4 separate regions of the Homo sapiens genome follow, and regions 1, 2 and 4 are each linked to region 3. The links are contacts of gene promoters, found by promoter capture Hi-C in blood cells and fetal thymus (Javierre and others, 2016). All regions are on one chromosome and are shown on one strand. Each heading gives the region's core, a stretch centred on a gene start or on the middle of the fragment in contact. The rest is flanking DNA. Distances are from core to core; before and after follow the strand shown. Region 1 overlaps FAM120A (family with sequence similarity 120 member A). Region 2 overlaps FAM120A (family with sequence similarity 120 member A). Region 3 holds the start of SUSD3 (sushi domain containing 3). Region 4 overlaps FAM120A (family with sequence similarity 120 member A).

Evidence for each region. Contacts are between HindIII fragments. The CHiCAGO score rates a contact against its expected background, and 5 or more counts as called.
Region 1: a fragment that was not itself captured here is called in contact with the fragment with the promoter of SUSD3 in region 3 in 3 of 17 cell types (neutrophils, monocytes and naive CD4 T cells); the score reaches 8.3 in neutrophils.
Region 2: a fragment that was not itself captured here is called in contact with the fragment with the promoter of SUSD3 in region 3 in 1 of 17 cell types (activated CD4 T cells); the score reaches 5.1 in activated CD4 T cells.
Region 4: a contact is called between a fragment that was not itself captured here and the fragment with the promoter of SUSD3 in region 3, in 1 of 17 cell types (neutrophils). The highest score is 7.2, in neutrophils.

The regions. Positions count from the first base shown.
Region 1 is chr9:93,497,788-93,500,487 of GRCh38, reverse strand. It overlaps FAM120A (family with sequence similarity 120 member A), which reads right to left. Exons shown (of 18, transcript NM_014612.5): 5 at 1,602-1,698. Among named protein-coding and RNA genes, the nearest start is that of FAM120AOS, 46 kb to the right of the region's middle. The HindIII fragment of the contact is 6,327 bases long and covers 1-2,700 here.
Region 2 is chr9:93,477,467-93,480,166 of GRCh38, reverse strand. The region is part of intron 3 of FAM120A (family with sequence similarity 120 member A); the gene reads right to left. Among named protein-coding and RNA genes, the nearest start is that of FAM120AOS, 25 kb to the right of the region's middle. The HindIII fragment of the contact is 1,197 bases long and covers 662-1,858 here.
Region 3 is chr9:93,057,292-93,059,991 of GRCh38, reverse strand. SUSD3 (sushi domain containing 3) reads right to left here and starts at 1,291. Exons shown (of 5, transcript NM_145006.4): 1 at 1,162-1,291. The coding sequence starts at 1,249. RefSeq lists enhancers at 1-215, 216-1,196 and silencers at 707-1,116, 1,127-1,576. The HindIII fragment of the contact is 6,174 bases long and covers 399-2,700 here.
Region 4 is chr9:93,521,292-93,523,991 of GRCh38, reverse strand. All of the region lies in intron 7 of FAM120A (family with sequence similarity 120 member A), which reads right to left. Among named protein-coding and RNA genes, the nearest start is that of PHF2, 54 kb to the left of the region's middle. The HindIII fragment of the contact is 5,654 bases long and covers 1-2,700 here.

The DNA.
Region 1 (2,700 bases), core at 146-2,645, 440 kb before region 3:
AGGAGTGTGCAGAGATTTAAAGCCAGGCAGACCTTGGAGAACACGACAGCCTGGATCTCACAAATCAGAAGGGCACAAACACAAGCTGGTCAGAGAAAGGAGCCCTCCAGGCACAAAAGCCGGCCCAGAGGCCCAGGGCAGAAGCTAGCTTGGTTCATGCAAGGCAAGAAAGGAGGCTGCGCTCAGGAGTGAGAAGCCAGCAGTCTCAGATGATGGGGAGGAAGCAAGGTAAGTAGTTGGGAATTTATTCCAAGTGTGACGGGAAGCCAATGGGGAATTCTGAGCATGGGAGTAGCACAGTCCAACTGCCATTTTTAAACATTACTTTGGCTGCTGGGAAGAAAATGGATTGCAGGGGAGCAAGAGAGCAGCAAAGAGCCCCACTGGGAGGCTGCTGCCATTTACTGACCTCGCAGTGGAGATTCAGCCACTCCATGCCCATCTCCAGGTTACAAGCCCTACCTCCTTTATTACAGGGCATCGGCACAGGCCATGTTTCCCTGTCCACCACCCAGCCACATACATAGGCAGCCAAAGCCAGTGCCATGCCTCTGATCTCCAATGCCCAGTTCCTAGCATACAGCAGACACTATGCTTGAATAAATGAAGGGTGCAGCTCTTAAGGCCACTTTCAATCTTGGAATTAGTCTTCTCAAATAAATACAAAGTCTCCTTCCAGTAAGAGTCTCTTGAACATGCAATCATTCTTTTGTTAACTTAGATGAAGCAAACAACACAATTTAAATGAGAGTTGGGGTCTATTTCTCATACTTCTACTTACAGTTTAGTGCTTTATAACCTCCACAAGACGTTCAATATGAAGCAGGCTTCAGGCTAACAGCTTATAAATATTTTTATTTCCCAATTTCAAATCTCTGAATTAACTTTTGGTCTTTTGCAGGCTGAACGTGGTGGCTCATGCCTGTAATCCCAGCATTTTGGGAGGCTGAGATGGGCAGATCGCTTGAGGCTAGGAGTTCGAGACAAGTCTGGCCAACATGGTGAAACCCCATCTCTACTAAAAATACAAAAATTAGCTGGGCATGGTGGCGCATGCCTGTAATCCCAGCTACTTAGGAGGCTGGGGCACAAAAATCACTTGAGCCTGGGAGGTAGAGGTTGCAGTGAGCCGAGGTCACACTACTGCACTCCAGCCTGGGCGACAGTGCAATACTCTGCTCAACAACAAAAAAGAATTAAAAAAAAAAAAAGGCAGGGGTCAAGAAAAGAGAGACTACAAATACACTGCATTTATGAAATCACTTGCAGTTGTGGAGGCCCTTCTACGTCCTCAGGCAATTCTGTATTTAGAAGCGGATATCTCAGAGCTGCCAAGACGTCAACATCCCCTCGACCTGCTGCCTCATCTGCACAATGCCCTCTGATTCTTCTTCATCCTATGAAGGCTGTTAAGTTCTCTTCCTCCTCAATATTTTCAGGGATTGCTACTGAGTCTGCCCAGGAAGTTTGGCTATACTTACTGGCATAACTACAGAAAATCATGTTTCAAAAACATAAACCTACAAGATTATATGGTGAATATTTAAACCTACTTGGATTATCATATGGTCAATATTGATCACAGGCTTTTATTTACTTACCTAAGTAATGTGGTGGATGAAATGACATAGGCTTACTAGTCGCTGAATAATATCCAATTGCTCTCTTAAATCGAATAACTTTGTCATCTGTTCTAGACTGAAATAAAGGCAGGAAAACCTTCATAAATTAGTGTGCCACTGGTCATGTGTATCACAATGTTTTTTATAATTCAGCACATGTATAATATTCTACAGCTTTTCAAGTTAGAGAAGAATTTTGAATGACATTAAAACTTTCAGGGAAAATCAATAGATTACTACAAAAGAATCAAACCAAACGTGAATTCTTTTAAAGCAATGTAGTCACAAGAGCAGAACTCCAAAGTGGTAGTCAGGGCCCTGGGTTCTAGCTCTAGGACTTCCCTGACTTCCACTCTGCTCGGTCTCTGGTCCTGCCCAGAGAGGAATCTCAAGCCATCTGTACCAAGGGAACGGATGGCAGTGACAGACTGGGGATGTTCCTGCCCAGGGTTTCAGCTCTCTCTTTTTCTTCTGAGACGGAGTTTCGCTCTTTCACCCAGGCTGGAGTGCGGTGGCATGATCTCCGCTCACTGCAGCCTCTGCCTTACGGTTTCAAGCGATTCTCCTGCCTCAGCATCCCGAGTAGCTGGCATTACAGGCGCCCACCACCACGCCTGGCTAATTTTTGTATTTTTAATAGAGACAGGGTTTCACCATGTTGGCCAGGCTAGTCTCAAACTCCTGACCTCGTGATCCGCCCGCCTCGGCCTCCCAGAGTACTGGGATTACAGGCATGAGCCACCGTGCCTGGCTGCATTTCAGCTCTCTAGAGACACAGCAGGAGTTTCACAGAGCCTTGCCTATTCTACTGATGCCAACTTGTTGGCACACCTACTTCCCCAAAAAAGAAGAAAATCCCTGACAATCACCTGAAGAAAACAGACAAATCAGAGATTTATAATGCCATATGACTGACTTGATACAGTTCATGTTCTGAAAACTCTGAAATACAGATCCTATTAAGTTAAGATCGAGAACTTATGAGCAGGAGACCTCACCAACCGTCTAACTGAATCTCCCTTTTATTCAGCCTGGAAAAGCTGGGTGAAGTGGCTGAGACTTCCTGGCTGGCAGGGAA
Region 2 (2,700 bases), core at 11-2,510, 420 kb before region 3:
ACCTTACTAGCAGCTCTTAAGGTTACCATTGAGGTATGAAGAAGTCACCTTACATCCTATTTCCTACTGTCTTCTACCAATTTTAGGTTCTGAGTATGTCTAACATTGCATTCATAATCTAGTAATAAGCACGATCTACTACTAACTAATAAGGCAGGACAAAACAGAATTTGGCTCCCATCCTAGCTTTCCTCTCTGCAGATATTACCCAATGATTTAACAGTTGTTCTCCCTTGTGCTTCTGAGCCCGCAGAGCCCCAAAGCAGACGTGCTATTCTTTCAACACAACCAGGGCTGTGGACAGTCAGGGAGGACTTCACAATTTCTAACTGATGTAGCTGGTTCGATGACAGTCAGAGAGTTAAAAATTTACAGTGAATGAATGAATGCATGTAGTGAAATTGGTAAAGACACATGTTTAAAAGATGAGTCTAAGGATGCTACTTATAAAGAAAACAAAAATTCATAGTGCTGCCAACATACTGAAGATTTGGAATCACATAAATTATCGACTACTGATGACTTCCTATCCATGGTATTTTGTGATTTTCATCAGATGGTAAAAAGATGAAATTTTCTCATGATTTTTATTGGTTCCCTTTCTAACAGAGTATACTGGAAAAATAGCTGTTAAGGACACGTGACTTTGCATCCTCAAGCTTAAGCCTCCTTGGTCCATCCCTTTTATCATATTATATTTGTACTATTTTGCCAAAGCCAAATTTATTATTGTTCACAGAGGGCTGGTGTTCTATGAAGTTAATATCTAATCAATTCAAAGCACCTCTTAAAATGCAATACCCTACTTTGGGAGGCCGAGGCGGGCGGATCACGAGGTCAGGAGATCGAGACCATCCCAGCTAAAACGGTGAAACCCCGTCTCTACTAAAAATACAAAAAATTAGCCGGGCGTAGTGGCGGGCGCCTGTAGTCCCAGCTACTTGGGAGGCTGAGGCAGGAGAATGGCATGAAACCGGGAGGCGGAGCTTGCAGTGAGCCGAGATCCCGCCACTGCACTCCAGCCTGGGCGACAGAGCGAGACTCCGTCTCAAAAAAAAAAAAAAAAAAAAAAAAAATGCAATACCCTAATCTTAAACCTCTCATCATTTCAACATAATACAAAAACACAAAGAATATTTCAGAAAATAAAACTCAGAATATTATGGAAGATATGTAACAACTATCCAAATTTTCAAAAGATGCAATTGGTTTTACAACTGGGGAAAAACAAAGAGACTAAAATAGCAGGTGGGATACATACAATTCTGTAGCACATCCATCAGTCATGCTCATGGGGAGTAAAACCACATCCAATTTCCCCTATGTATATTAAAATCACTGAAATGGTGCTGCATACAAAAATGTGAATGAAGGGTCAAAACATTAAAGTGAGCCGGGTGCTGTGGCTCACACCTATAATCCCAGCACTTTGGGAGGCCAAGGTGGGTGGATCACCTGAGGTCAGGTGTTCGAGACGAATATGGACAACATGGTGAAACCCTGCCTCTACTAAAAACACAAAAATTAGCTGGCGTGGTGGCAGGCGCCTGTAATCCCAGCTACTTGGAAGGCTGAGGCAGGAGAATCACTTGAACCCTGGAGGCAGAGGTTGCAGTGAGCCGAGATCTCACCCCTGTACTCCATCCTGGGTGACAGAGCAAGACTCTGTCTCAAATAAAAACATTAAAGTGGCTAACAAATGCAATTTCTGAACTTATCTCAAAACCAGGTGCACTTGCATTTCATGTGTGACTTTAAAATCCTACAACGTATCAAGTCATCTGAAAAATAATTTAGGATTTCTTCTCCAATATGCCATAAAAGTACTCAGCTAATATCAAAATGCATGCATAAAGCTTGACTGGATCTCGATCAAAAAAAAAAAAACCTATAAATGACTCTGAAAAAATTTGAATATGGGCTTAATATTAAATGATATTAGACACTGCACTCCAGCACAGGTGACAGAGCAAGACCCTGTCTCAAAAAAAAAGATATTAAAGAATTATTAATTTAGTTGATGTCATAGGAGTAATATGATAAAGTATCAAAATGTCCTTATTTTTAGGAAGTGATGGAGCAAGCTGAAGTGGTGGAGCAAGCTGACATTTTCATGGGTAAAGTGTCATATCTGCAACTTACTTCCAAATAGTTTTTGTTAAACAAAACAAAACACAGACATATACTTTATGGCAAAATGTTTATAATTGTTGAACCAAGATGGGGGATATACGGATACACATTTCTCTATTCTTTCCACATTTCAATACTTAAAGATTTTCTCAACAAAATTTAGGAAAAACACACATATAATGATGTTATTCACTTGGCAATAGATTGAGCTGGTTTTCCAATAATTCTTCAAACAGCTCTTCACTTCTAACCCTGTGACATATGAAGCAGGGCTAGTTTAACTTAGACATACACATATAGCCAGAAACCTTGGGAGTATCTCACTCCTGCTCTTCAAAACAAAATAAATCTTGTAGGAAACAAGCTTTCATTTGTGTCTCACTTACAAAAGCATAATGCTTAACAGAGCTACTGAGCACAGGTGCAGTGCTCTTAAGTCCAGCTGATTACACGCTGCATTTCCCCAATCCACATTTCAATCATGGCATCACCAGAAGCTTAGAGTCCGAATGACAGATCACATCACTTCATTCATGAAAACATACAGGAGGGATTCTATGGCCAGAA
Region 3 (2,700 bases), core at 42-2,541:
CCAGGCCCTGGGCAGGCCTTGCTCAAACACAGGAGCAAAAGTGCTCATCACCCCAACACCAAATTAGGGACTCTGGACATTAGGCTGCCAGAGTCAAACTAAATAAACCAAATCCACCAGCGCCAGGAACAAGTCTCAGCGCCCACTTTGCTGAGCTGCGGACCTCTGCTCGGTGAATTAGCTCCCTGAGCCGCAGTTTCCCCAACTGTGAGAGGAAGCCATTCTCCTGCCACCTTCCTGCCAGTTCCCTGGGGCTGCAGGCTGACAGTGTGACCTGGTCCAGCCCACCCCACTCCGGGCCTCAGCTTCCTCCTGCGCAGAGCCTTAGCCCCGCAACGCCTGAGACGCCCAGAACCCTCAGGCCTAACGTTCGTGGGCAGTGGCCGCGGAAGTAAGCTTTTGGGATATCTGAGACCCAGAGTTCCGGTTTGGTTCCGTTTCTAAAAGGGTTAGACTTTAGAATCATTCAAGGAGCAAGGCCAGCATTCGAACCCCGGAGCCTTGGGCACGGGAGCAGACAACTCTTTAAGCACATTCTTGAATTCAAACACTTAAAAGTAAAATAAAAAGCAGCTTCTCTTCCTTCCAAAGGCCTCTGAGCCTCCTCCGAGACAGCCGAGGCGATCCCAAGCCTGGCTACAGGGTGACCTCGGACAGCCACTCCCCTCTCGCAGGCTCAGTTTCTCCATCTGTAAAGTGGAGCTGCGCTGGTCACCAAGGAATCGTGAAGATGACACCTCCCTCAGGCGCAGAGAGGGCTCCCGGCTCCCCCCTCCCGCCCCCGCGCCACCCGCCCGCCAGGTGAGGCCGGTTTCGACTTCCCCGGGAGGGGCGCGGAGGGGCCCGGAGCCTGCGGCGTGGAGAGGCTTGGCCGGCCGCGCTGTCCGCAGACGCCCGGGACCAAGGCGCTGCGGCCACTCGGGAACGGGCGCGCGGGCTGCTGCGTGCAGCCGCCTGGTTTCGAACTGCTCGCTGCCAGGCTTCGGCTCCGCTAGGGCGCCTGCTGGGCCGGCGGAGGGTCGAGGAGGTTCGTCCTCGGGGCAGATCGTTGCTGTGGCCCCCACCCACGGCTGTGCGGCCCCGCGACCCCCTCCCCTCGGCTTTCCCGTCTGTGAAATGGGCGCAGAGCCCCGCACGCGGCCACTCGGCCCCAGCCCTCACCTGTGCGGTTCCCTGGGGCAGGCGTGGTGACCCCGGCCCGCCCCCGGGGCCTCGCCTTGCCACGGAGGGTGGCGGCCGCCCAGCGCATCCTGCGCGCTCCGAGGCGCTTGGCGGGGTCTGCCAGGGGAGTGAGCCCGGCTTGTGGGGGCGGGGCCTGGGCCTGGGCCTGGGTGAGGGGCGGGGAGGCCCCGCCCTCCACGCCCGCCCAGGGGCGGTTCCATGCAACTTACAGACCACGCCCACACGTTGGACTGGGGCCGAGGTCCGGCCGGGGGCTGTGGGCGGGGGCCCTTGGGGAGACCAAATACCCAGCGGGCCAAGGCAGCCGGCTGAGCGGAAAGTGTTGCTACTCCGGGGCGTTGCACGCGTGGCTACCTCTGCCCAACACCCTTCCCCCATCCCTTCCTGTTCTCACCTTCACTCCTAGTGTGGTTTTTCCATGTGCTTCTGTGTTTTTATTTTTTGAGCAGGATTTTGCCTTCTCAGGGTGCCGGATTCGGCCGGTACCAAAGGGCAAACAGCAAAACGCCTCCCCGGCCCGCCCCTCCCGTAACCCACTCACCCCCAGAGTCCTGTGTGGACCCAGCCTTCTTTCCCTGTCTCTCACTGGGCCAGGCCGTCTGAGGCACACTGAGGTCTGGGTGCCCTTGTTGTCTTCGGTTCTCACTGAGGGGCCCCCGGCTGGGGGAAACAGGATGGAAAGCCCTGGGGTCTGTCTGCAGGGCCCACCACACCTGGAGGCCTCCCTTCTCCTGGCTTCCCCTTCCCACCCAGCTCCACTTGCAGCAGGCCCAGAGCTGTGATCCGGGCTCTTTCTCTCCCTCTGACCCCACCCAACCCAGGCTTAGCCCCCTGCCCAGGCAGCCACCAAAGGGTTGGGTGTGGTGTCAGGCCTCAGACATCCTGGATCTTGGGCTGCTTGTGGGAGACCACCTGAGCCATGCCTATTCCTGTGGAGCTGGCAAAGGCAATCCTGGCAGAGGGAACAGCAGGTGCAAAGGCCCTGGTTTGGCAATGTGTGGCAGCAGAAGCCCAGTGCGGCTGGCTTAGGCATGCCTCCAGGAGCGCAGAAGGTGGCCCAGGTGGGCCAGGCTGGCTCTAGAGTGCCTGGCAGGTGACCGTGAAGAGTGTGGATGTTCAGGTGGACCATGAAGCAGGGTTCCAGCAGGGCAGCCCCTCCCCGTCTCTGCTTTCCGAGCCCTCCAAAGCTGAGGTTCAGTGTGAAACGTGAGGGGCCCTCCCCCTTTCGCCATCAGGGTTGGCGTCACCCCTGATATGTTCTTCCCACTTGGACTTGTGGGTCACACACGATGGCTTACTTCAATCTCCTTTATTCAAAATCAAGCATGTGTATTCTTTCTGCCATGTCGGGAAGGGCAGGGCCATCAGCAGTGCCCACTCCAGACCACACTCTGGGACCCCAGAATGTCTTGCCAAGTGGCCCCTAGCCCACCTCTCAGGCCTGTGTGGTCCCTTCCCTGGTTTTGCCCACCATGCACCACCAGGCAGAAGGCCACTGCCTGTAGGTGCATGGACAGG
Region 4 (2,700 bases), core at 81-2,580, 460 kb before region 3:
GAGTTCTCCTGCACGGCCTGGCCCTGCCAAGTGCTATCTCCCTACAGAAGCACCAGTATCTGGGTGCCCTGACCAGGGAAGCTACAAGAGTCACAGAGACAGACACCTAATAGGTCTAGTCTCCTCATGCTCTAGTTAAGCTAACATCACACATTCAGTTTCCTTCACATAATGGGTGAGCTTAAAATGTCAGGAACACAGAAAGCACTTTTCCATGTGGCAGTCAGATGATGGCTCAAACTTCTTTCACAGCCTTGTTGGCACTTCTCGCTGTCATCAGAAGACAGTGTGACCAAGAAGCCCCAACTGGTCACGGAGCTATCCCCTTGCACCCCACAAGTGAGGGTTCAGAGACACCTAACTGTGTCAACACGTTTGTCTTAAGATCAATACGAAATGTCTACACAGATTAGTGGATGGCTAGAACACAACGTAATGATATAGATCACAATTAATTTTTGCCAACATATAAAATTCAGAATCACTTTTATGAGAAGATATTAGAAATGGTACCATGTGTCAAAACATAAATATAAAGTGGATATCTGTCTGGAACAAGAGCATAACAATCTGAAAGAAAAACCTACAGTTACACTAAAGTCATTCCCTCAGCCCCAGGCCTACCTACCCATGCCTCAGGATCCTGGAGCAGAGCACGATGGAATTCTCTTTGTGAAACACAAAGTTTTTTTGCAAGTAGAGTTGGAAAGGCCTTAAAGGACAAGAAAAACATTCAACACCATCTTCAAGCAAAAGAGGCACATCAGGCACAAACTTCCTGGGATACCAGATCAAAGGGAGCCAAATAAAATTCTTTTAGCTATTTTACATTAAAAACCACATCAGTGTTCTGATTTTCTAGCATACTAAGAGTTAATTTTTAAAAAGTAGTGATAGCTACCATTCATTGAGCTTTTTCATCAGCTAATTTAATACACAAACAACTCAGCAAACCTGTCACGCACATTTGAATGCTCTGAGGTTCTGCGAGCTTCAGGTCACAACATCACCTAGAAATACCAACCAAGAGACTCTGAGCAAACCGGTTCCTGCCAACAGCTAGGTCTCAGTGCTGCTCACAGAGCATGCTAACACCAAACAGCCTGCCTTCCTGTGGTTCATCTTTCACAGTCCAGATTTGGTCCAGGGAGTACATGTCATTAGCAAAAATTAACAGGGGAGGGGGATACAAGACTTATGCAAAAGATGCCTCCATAACACTACATGTCAAAATAAAAATAAATGTGGAGATGTCCTTGTTCCACAGGGCTTTCTCTCCTAAGATACATACATAAGTTCTCAAGAAAATGAAACCCATTTATACAAACAAGGTCACAAGGTGGAAAAAAACTCAGTCTTCTCTCTCAATAAGGACTTTTACATATCCATTTAAAAATGTCAGTAATTTTATGCAAAAATATTAAAGCAATAAAGTGGATGTATATAGATCTTATTAAATATTGGGTATTAAGTACATGTACATATTAATACTTACATGCACAAATAAGAATACATAGTTACGTAAGTATATTAAGGATAAAAGATGGAAGAAAAGGAAAAAGGGCAAGTTACTCTCCCTAAGATAGGACCTAGTTATTGTAAAAATCTTATTTTAGCAGATGCAGAGGAAAATAAGGTGCTTGAATATTCACCAATCTTTCAAATATAATTACCTCTCTAGAAGTAGGATCATGGGGAATTCTCTATACTGTATTGTCCAGTGTTTGAATTCTATATAACTTTGTATCAAGATGATAATTAGAAAAAAGATATAAAACAAAGAATTAAAAATTGTAATACAGTAACCTCAGATTTGATTCAGATTCTGCAAGTCCAAATGAATCTATGAAAATAACATAAAATAAACACCTCCACAAGGATTCAATTGTAATTTTTGTTTTGTTTTGTTTTTTAAACAGGATCTCACTCCGTTGCCCAGGCTGGAGTACAGTGGCACAATCTCGGCTCATTGCAACCTCCACCTCCCAGGTTCAAGCAATTCTCCTACCTCAGCCTCCCAAGTAGCTGGGACTACAAGCAAACACAACCACGTCCAGCTAATTTTTGTATTTTTTGGTAGAGAAAGGGTTTCACCATGTTGGTCTTGAACTTCTGACCTCAAGTGATCTGCCTGCCTCAGCTTCCCAAAGTGCTGAAATTACAGGCATGAGCCATTGCACCCGGCCTCAACTGTAATTCTTAATTCAACTGAAACAAGATTACAAACATCTGACAGGCACCAGGAAGGGAAAAAAGACAAGAATGTCACTTTAATTTTTAAAATTTAAACAAGAATAAAGCAAGTGTATGCTGGTACTGCTCTACTGTTCTAACAAAGGAACTGGAGGAGACATTACTTAGAAAGCCACACACTTCATTCCTTTTCTTTCTTTCCTTTTTTTTTTTTTTAAGAGACAGGGACTCATTCTGTTGCCCGGCTGGACTGCAGTGGTGCCATCATGGCTCACTACAGCCTTGAACTCCTGGGCTCAAGTGATCCTTCCGTCTTAGCCACCCAGGTTGCTGGACCCACAGGCACATGCCACCATGTCTGGCTAATTTTTAAATTTTATGTTGCCCAGGCTGGCTTCACGCAATCCCCCTGCCTCAGCCTCTCAAAGTGTGGGGATTAAAGCATGAGCCACCACATGTGGCCCCTTTTTCTTATTTTATTGCCAAACTGTTTTAGGCCTAGAATAA